Regions from separate parts of the Homo sapiens genome. Here region 2 is linked to region 1. Evidence: promoter capture Hi-C in human tissues and cell types (Jung and others, 2019). All regions are on one chromosome and are shown on one strand. Each heading gives the region's core, a stretch centred on a gene start or on the middle of the fragment in contact. The rest is flanking DNA. Distances are from core to core; before and after follow the strand shown.

The links. The method cuts DNA at HindIII sites, captures the fragments that hold promoters and counts their contacts. A contact is called where the count stands out against the background at its distance.
Region 2: a contact is called between a fragment that was not itself captured here and the fragment with the promoter of METTL4 in region 1, in 1 of the 25 tissues and cell types used here (lymphoblastoid cells).

Annotation. Positions count from the first base shown.
Region 1 is chr18:2,569,690-2,573,599 of GRCh38, reverse strand. METTL4 (methyltransferase 4, N6-adenosine) reads left to right here and starts at 2,095. Exons shown (of 9, transcript NM_022840.5): 1 at 2,095-2,451. NDC80 (NDC80 kinetochore complex component) reads right to left here and starts at 2,043. Exons shown (of 17, transcript NM_006101.3): 1 at 1,917-2,043; 2 at 514-623. The coding sequence starts at 614. RefSeq lists enhancers at 2,038-2,197, 2,080-3,002. The HindIII fragment of the contact is 12,565 bases long and covers 1-3,910 here.
Region 2 is chr18:3,593,071-3,596,980 of GRCh38, reverse strand. The region is part of intron 7 of DLGAP1 (DLG associated protein 1); the gene reads left to right. DLGAP1-AS1 (DLGAP1 antisense RNA 1) reads right to left here and starts at 2,867. Exons shown (of 3, transcript NR_024101.1): 1 at 2,741-2,867; 2 at 2,497-2,561; 3 at 1-402. RefSeq lists enhancers at 1-724, 1,448-1,547, 725-1,695, 3,108-3,227 and a silencer at 1,816-2,110. The HindIII fragment of the contact is 6,480 bases long and covers 1-3,910 here.

The sequences.
Region 1 (3,910 bases), core at 846-3,345:
CTCATAATGAAAAACTATAGTTTATGACAGCAGGTTCTTTCAGATATTTTTCCAGCAAATCTTGAGGAAAGAGTTCGGAGGAGTGGTGTTTTGTAGGCTGCTACTATATTATACCTTATGAGAGCAAATAATTTTGCTCTGATTTGATTGAAGCTTTGCTAATTGGAAATATCTCAGTGAACTCTAAGTTACAGCACAGAGCCTGCTTAAACAAGTAGCTCTAGAATAAAAGAGAAAAATAAGAGAGTACTGAACAAGAATTAACAGTCCTTTTAGGGGGTGCCTGGTAAAGCATTTGGCTTTGGAAATTTGTGAAACAAATGACACAAACAACACCTAGCAGAGTATCATGCCCACTTTTAGATTTCATTGATCCAAAATTAGGTACCCCTGGGAACAGACAAGATTCACCAAGACATCACTCATATTACATCTTTATATTAACTATTTCTTATGATTTCTTTGCCTAAGATGATAAAGCATGCAAATTAGAACCACAAGGGAAATACTCACGTTTGAGGGGTATAGAGGCCTTGTTTATTTACATCCTGGGATCTTAACTCCTGCATGGAGAGGCGGCCAGCACCACCGCTGGAAACTGAACTGCGCTTCATGCTTATGACCTACATTCACGAATTCAGTATTTAAAAAAAACTTTCCAGACAGAGATGGTACATTAAGCAACTATTTATCCTTAAACAGAAAGACAGTCAGGTTTCATTGTTTCTTCAAGATCATCATCTTTCCCCTGGGGTATCTCTTTTTTGTTCATGTACACTGAAGTTCTCATTTGCAAGGAACATCTATTTAATTCCATTTAAAAATATTCAACATAAACATTTATTAACTGCCCACTATATATATAGGGGAGTGTGCTAGGCAATGCAGGAGATGCAAAGACGAGTAAGTTACGGTTTTTGCCTTCACAAGGGTATCCGTGGTAGCTAAAGCCCTGTCTGTTACCCAGACCACATTACTGCTGTTGGCTGTGCCTATTTCAATAGGAAGACAAAAAAATTACCTCAAATTCTCTTATTCACCTCAAAATGTTTCCTTTTCTTTGGTTTCAGAGAATGGAATTATTCTGTTTTCCTAATGTCAATCTCTCCTGCTCTGTCCTTAACCCATTGTTTCCTCAATTACTGCCCTTTTGGCATCAATCTCCCCTTCAACAAGGATAAATCATCCGGTCCATAAAATGGTCTATAGGCTGCCTCCATTTACAAACCACATTAACAGGTCACTCCCTTCACATCTGCTAAAAAATTTGTCTCCTAGGATACACATGATTGACAAAACTTTTGATCCTGTCTCATCTCTGCACCCAGCCTTCTCAGGTCCTGCCCTGGCTTTCAGGAAGGTGACAATCCTTTTACTTCTCTGGGTACTCCTTAGTCTTTTACACTGATTAGACTCTTCTTGATTTTGGCCGCCTATTTCCTCTTCAATATGCGCTTGTTCATCTATTCAACTTTTCCACTCACACCTGTGTGTCCACGTTTAATCTCCACTTAGAATGTAGCTCTCATGATTTAAGATGAAGACTTCTACACGCAGTCCTACACGGCCATAAGAAGCTACACTAGTATTCAGACGCAACCCACCCAACGAGTCCTCTCTTGTCCATCTCTTTCCGCCCCCTTCAATTCTTCCCCGTTTCCTCTCCCGAGCCTCCACTCCTCATCAGTGTCCCCCAGGCCCTCCCCTTTCCTCCTTGGGAAATCGTTGCCACTAGAAATTTAATAGATCCCGTGAAACCAGCGCCTCGCACAGTTTTGGCCTCGAGGCTTCTCCCAACAGCAAACAAACACCAAAACATCGCCTCAGGACCTCTAAATTTAAGTCATTGGCGCCATCACTTTCTTCCTCCAGAACAGCTCTGCAGAAACAAAGTTAATCCGATGTCATTCAGTCACCTTTTTTCCAGTTTCCTGACACGACCCAGGGACCGAATTTCTGTAAACCGTGCAAGTATCTGCTAGACAGGACAGCGGTCATCAAAACACCAGGTCCTTCCTCGGCCCGCCAAAGCCGTTCGAATTTGAAATTCTCCGCCGGCGCTGACGTCATTACGCACGACGCGCGCAGTAACTTCCATGCGACCGCCTCGTCGCTGGAAGGCTGCGTGCTGGTCGCGCCCAGCTGCGTCACCCCAGGAACTGGGGTCTGTGGGCCAGTGTGGCCGTCTCTACGAAGACTGGCACGACCCCTAAAGTTAGGTCGGAAGACCTGTGGGCAGCTTGAGCGCCGAGGAGTGCCCTGAACGCTCAACTCGCCCTGGAAACGTTTTTCCGTACAGCAACATGGCGGCGCCCATGGACTCTTAGAAAAGGAGAAAGCTTTTTCTCTGTGGACTGGAAGGGGCATTTTTCATGATCACTATTTAGATGGGTGCTGTTTTCATGAGGAGAGTCTGGGAAGGCGGCGTCCGCTTTTCTGACAAGGGAAGAGGTGAGGTGGGAGAGGGGCTGCGGAGTGGGTGGAATGGGCTCCCAGGATTGCGTTGGTACGGCTGCCGAAATTCGGGCTCAGTATTTGATCACTTGCCGGAGGCTCACGGTCCTCTGGTGGTGGCTGACCTGTGAGAGGCTAGGAAGAATCCAAGTGTTTGGGGGCGGGCGGCGAGGGAGTGGATGTGAAGCAGAGACGCAGGAGAGGGGTGCACTAACAACAGTAACAGTAGATCACTTTGCTAAAATAGGATTTCCTCGCTGCTGTGAGTTTGAATCCAGAAACAGGCACTGCCCGGTACCTGGAGAGTGGTGGTGATGAAAGATCTCACAGCTCCAGGAAGTCTGGATACTTGGGTCTGGTAGCAATTGTGCCATTAACTAGCGTTGTTATTTTTGGGCAGCTTGCCTTTCTGCTCTGAGTTTCAATTTTCCCGTCTGAATTTCTAGCTCTCACTAGCCATTCCAGGACCCTTTTCACCTCAGCTGTGGCCTATGAAGGGGATGGGGAGGAACCAAGGATTATATTAATATAAAAATTATATGAAAATTAGGCAACCGTCTGATAATAAAAAGTCTCCTTGTGGAATACTGTTAGGTTAAACTTTACCTACAGATTGTTAAATCCTTAGCACTAATGTTTTCCCCAGAAAAGATTAATGGAAACATCATTTGCTTTTCTGACTAGATAGTTGCTGCTTCCAAAGGTGGTTTTACACAAATACAAAATTAAAAACACCTTTAGTACAGAAATAATTGCTTGTATTTCGGTATACATTCACAGTACAGTTCAGCATTTAGTGGTCCTGCTAGCAATTTGCCAGGAAGTCAAGCCTGCCAATTTCCTGATATTCCTGCTGTGCACCCCAACTTCTTAATCCCTGCTGAGGATCTTGAGAAGCAGCAGCACCAAAACCAAAGTAGGCACCAAATTCAAGGTTCTTTTGGTTCCGGTTGTCACATTTCAAGCTAGACTCCAATAGATGGAAGGATGATCACATGTGAGCCCTGTTTAAAACTTCAATTTTTAAGAGCAAGCACAATTGCAGGAAAAGAAAACAATTCAGAGGGATCATGTGTGCTTACAGTTGTCTTCATGTGGCCTTTTCCCAGGTTTAACCACCAAGGACCCTGACAGCCGGGGTGTCTGAATAACCCTGGTGACTCTTTTCACCATATCAAAACCTGAGTTAAAAGGCTGATGATAACAGCAGAAGGTGGCAGGGCTGAGGACCCACTATTAATTTCCTAGGCTGGTGGAGAGTGAATAAATGTTCTTCCAACCTTACCTTATGGCTTCTGGTCAAAGCAAAGAAGTGTCGTGGAAAGTGTTGGGTGGTGACAGTGCAAAAAGAGACTTGACGGGGAGGGAGCAGCATCTCTTGATAAAGGTGGGGAAGAGAAGATATGGGGAAAGCCCTGAATTCCTCATGGAAGGCGAATCTCAGAGGGGAGCGGAG
Region 2 (3,910 bases), core at 372-2,871, 1.0 Mb before region 1:
GGGGAGAATGGGGGACATCGGGTGGACGACCCAGGGGACCAGCTGGTGTCAGAGAATGGTAGATTAGGATTTGGCCTGCTAGATCATGCTGGCGGCATTGGCCAACATCAAACACGAGGGGGCTCTGGTGACAGGACATGACACTGCACAATCAGAGATCACAGCGAATGGCTTTGCTGAGGTGTCCACTTTACTCCTGCCCCGATCACCTCCCCTTCCTGATTGTTAGTCCTTTTGTTTCTCCAGGAAGTCTCTTCTCATCCCTGTTCACGCCTTCATGTAACAAGCATTTATCACACTAGTACCGTGAGCCACGCGTGTGCTGTGGTTACATCCGTGGAACAGACAGACAGCAGTGCCTGATCTTGTAATTCTTCCATCCTTTCATTCCTTTCTCTCAGTCTGGCCAGAAAAAAAAAAAAAAAGTTCTCCTAACAGAGAATATAGCAACAGGTTGCTGAAAAGTGACATCTGACAAGAAATGAAAGCTGGTTGATAAAAGATTTAAAAGAAAAATGTCAGGCCGGGCTTGGTGGTTCAAGCCTGTAATCCCAGCACTTTGGGAGGCCGAGGCAGACAGATCATCTAAGGTCAGGAGTTCAAGATCAGCCTGGCCCACATGGTGAAACCCCGTCTCTATTAAAAATATAAAAATAAGCTAAGCATGGTGGCGGGCGGCTGTAATTCCAGCTACACGAGAGGCTGAGGCAGGAGAATCGTTTGAACCTGGGAGGCGGAGGTTGCAGTGAGCCGAGATCGCACCACTGCACCCCAGCCTGGGTGACAGAGTAAGACACGGTCTTAAAAAAAAAAAGAAAAGAAAAATGTTCTTTCCTGCTCCTGGCACTCTCCCTGCCCTAGCCTCCTGGGCATGCTATCTCTCAACAAGACCCAGTCTGCCCCAACCAGAGGTGTTGCTAGACCAGCTGCCCAAACAGGAAACCTTATATAATTCTGTAACCCTGACCTTGGGCCTGAATCTTCCCCTTCTGTAAACAGTCCATTCAACCCAGGAAGACCTGCAGACCTGGTTGGGACACATTTTGAAAAACACACACATTGTTAAAAATGTTGAAAAAAGTCCCTAGGTCTAAGAGGAAGTGTTCTGTCTGACTCAGCAGTAGAAATCACTTCATATAAAGTAATGGAACAAATGGAAATTTAATCCTAACAGATGTAACAGGGCAGTCACTTGTGTACACGGATGACTTGATTGCACCTGTTGGAAAGGCTGGGAAAATGAGCCGTGAAATCCTGATCACATTCCCTACTGGAAGCAGCACTCCTGCCTTGCAAATTAGTAAGCCTGATGTTCTCAACATCCTGACTTCAACATGTGTGCCCTAGTTCTGTGCAGGCCATGACTCACTTTAGCTACTGGTCAAATGATTCTTACTCAGAGCCCTAGGTTTCTAATCTTTAGTGTTAAGTGGTCCAGGCACATACTAGCCAAATGTCTGTCTACTTCCTTTTTTTTTTCTCATGCCTGTTTCCCAGTCTGTGTCCTTTCAAGATACTCCCTTGAAATGACTGATTTCAGGCAACAACTGGATTTACATATGGTAGCCTTCAACTTCCTGTTTAACTTACTGCCAAACTTCAATAGAAGTCCAGATTAGAAGTTTTAGACCTCAGCCTCTGGCCCTGGGCCTTCTGAAATGACCTTCCTCCAAACACCATTTAATTTCCGCTAACTTAGTTAATGAATGGAACTTTCTGAAGACAGCAGTTACTTTGATCTGAACCCCTTTCCTAGTTTCCAGTTAACATAGCCAGAGGGAGACAGAAGGGGTGCCCGCCTCTCAATGGGTGCCCTCTCCTCCTGCGTGGCTGGAGCAGCTCCCAGCTGTAGCTATTCCTCTAACGCAGAGAGAGCTGCAGAAAGCAGTTCCCAAAAGGAAGAAGGCAAGTTACAAATACCGCCGTTGGCATTTTCGTGGGTGTTTCCCGCCACATAGAGATAAAAGCTTTGAGGTGGGGCTTTGAGGCACACTCTCTGGGTAGCTGGGCCTGCAGTCTGGAAATCCTAAGTAATCCTTGCAAATAGGCTAACTGGAAGCCAGCAATACAAATGAGCAGTGCTTCTGGCCTGAGAGAAAGGTGTCTGCATTCAAAGTACAACTTCAGATAAAAATGGAAAATGCCAGTCCCACCCTGCAGGAATCCTGTTTCTGGGCTGTTTATCCTCACTGCCATCCACCCTACCCTTGGCTGTGACTAGGATGTGAAGAAAGAGATTGGGTGGAAAAGGCTACCGCAGCTCTTGCTCCGTTTAACTCACCACCTTAAAAAACATGGCCTTGGCTGCTGCTTTAAAACAACAACAACGAAAATCCCCAGCCCCAACCCAGAGGTTTAACCCTGCAGCTAAGGTGAAGTTTTTGTTAAGGTGATAAGGTAAAAAAGGACGCCATTCTGAGCCTTGACTTCCACTCTTCATACTTTTCGGAAGACAAGTCCAGCAAAGACCTCCACCCCTTCCAAAGAGCGACTTACCTCGTAGCTGATCCACAGATTGCAACGTACAGATGTGATGTTCCAGGCTTGGCCACAAGGGGACACTAGAGAGTAGGACTGCCCGCGTCAATGTTTTGTTTTTTACAGACTTTTGGTTGGGAGGGAGGGAGGGAGGGAGGGGGGTGTGGGAGTGGTGGGGGAGATGCTGGCTTTAAAAAAAAGTCCATTTGTTCCCTGAGATTGTGCCACTTGCCCTTTTATAAGTCAAAGGTTGCCACGTTACCTGTTGCCAGGTTCCTGAGAGTGCTTGGGGAAAATGTGGGCGAGAGAGGCACAGCACAGTCCTCCGGCTTGGTAGGTTTCAAGCTCTTTTGACTGGGCTGGCGCTGACATTTGCAGGGGCAGCTGCTGTGGATTGCCTGCGCATTGTTTGGCTGTAGTTCTAACAGAGGAGTGGCTGCGTCTGACATCATTTCCAGGCATCAAGTGCCTGGGGCTTTTTTTTTTTTTTTTCTTTAATGACGAACTCTCTGACCCCTCCCTGCCTGGATTTTTGTACAGTACATGCACTGTGCAAAACAGCCTCCACTCAGGAAGCCCAAGTTTTGTAGCAGCTTGTTGAAACAACTTGGGTGCCTTTTAAAAAAAATAAAGTTGTGACTCTGAAACAAACCTTTCCATTCTTCCTCCTTGCTGAGAACAATGTTGCGTTTGATTAGCAGCGCAGCCAGTGCTTTCTGAAAGATCTGCTCTCCCCAGAAGAGGCGGCTGCTATCAGTTGAATAGATCTCTAGGCCAGACATGCCGAGGCTTGGGGCATTTGTCTGGCGTTAGGAAGTGTCTGGAATACTAGCAACTACCAACTGGCGTGTCTTATGACTACAGGAATTATTACACTACCCTCCATTTCATTCACATCCCCTCTCCTCCCCTTACACACACACACAAGCATATTTTTTTCTACTTTAGAAAAAGTTGAGCGAGTCATCTTGTGGTTTCCGTGGAGGATGTAACTGGGAGAGAAGACTGTGGGATACCTTGTATCTCCCAGAGGGGGGCCGGGAATCATGGTGTATGACCCACCCCAACAGCCTCTGATCTCTGCCTTCTCACCACTGACCGCCACGCTTTGGGTGGCCTTAAATGTGAAGCTGTAAATATTTTGAAATAAGGTAGTGATTTTTCCATGTGCATTTTGTTTTGTGGCATTTCTCTCCTTCTGCAATATTTTAAAAGTTGCAACTGTGCACCCCTTGTTGACCACTCCAAATTCATTCATTCACTGAAACTTAAGAGTTCCTGCAGAGTGAGGATGGCTGTGCACGAAGGAGTCCCTCGTGGAAACCACGGTGCTTTAGTGGACAAGGTGTTTACTAGAGAGTGTTTACTGGCGGGGGGCGGGGGAGATAAACAAAGGTGGTTTGAGTTAATGGTCAGATGGGAGTTGGAGCCC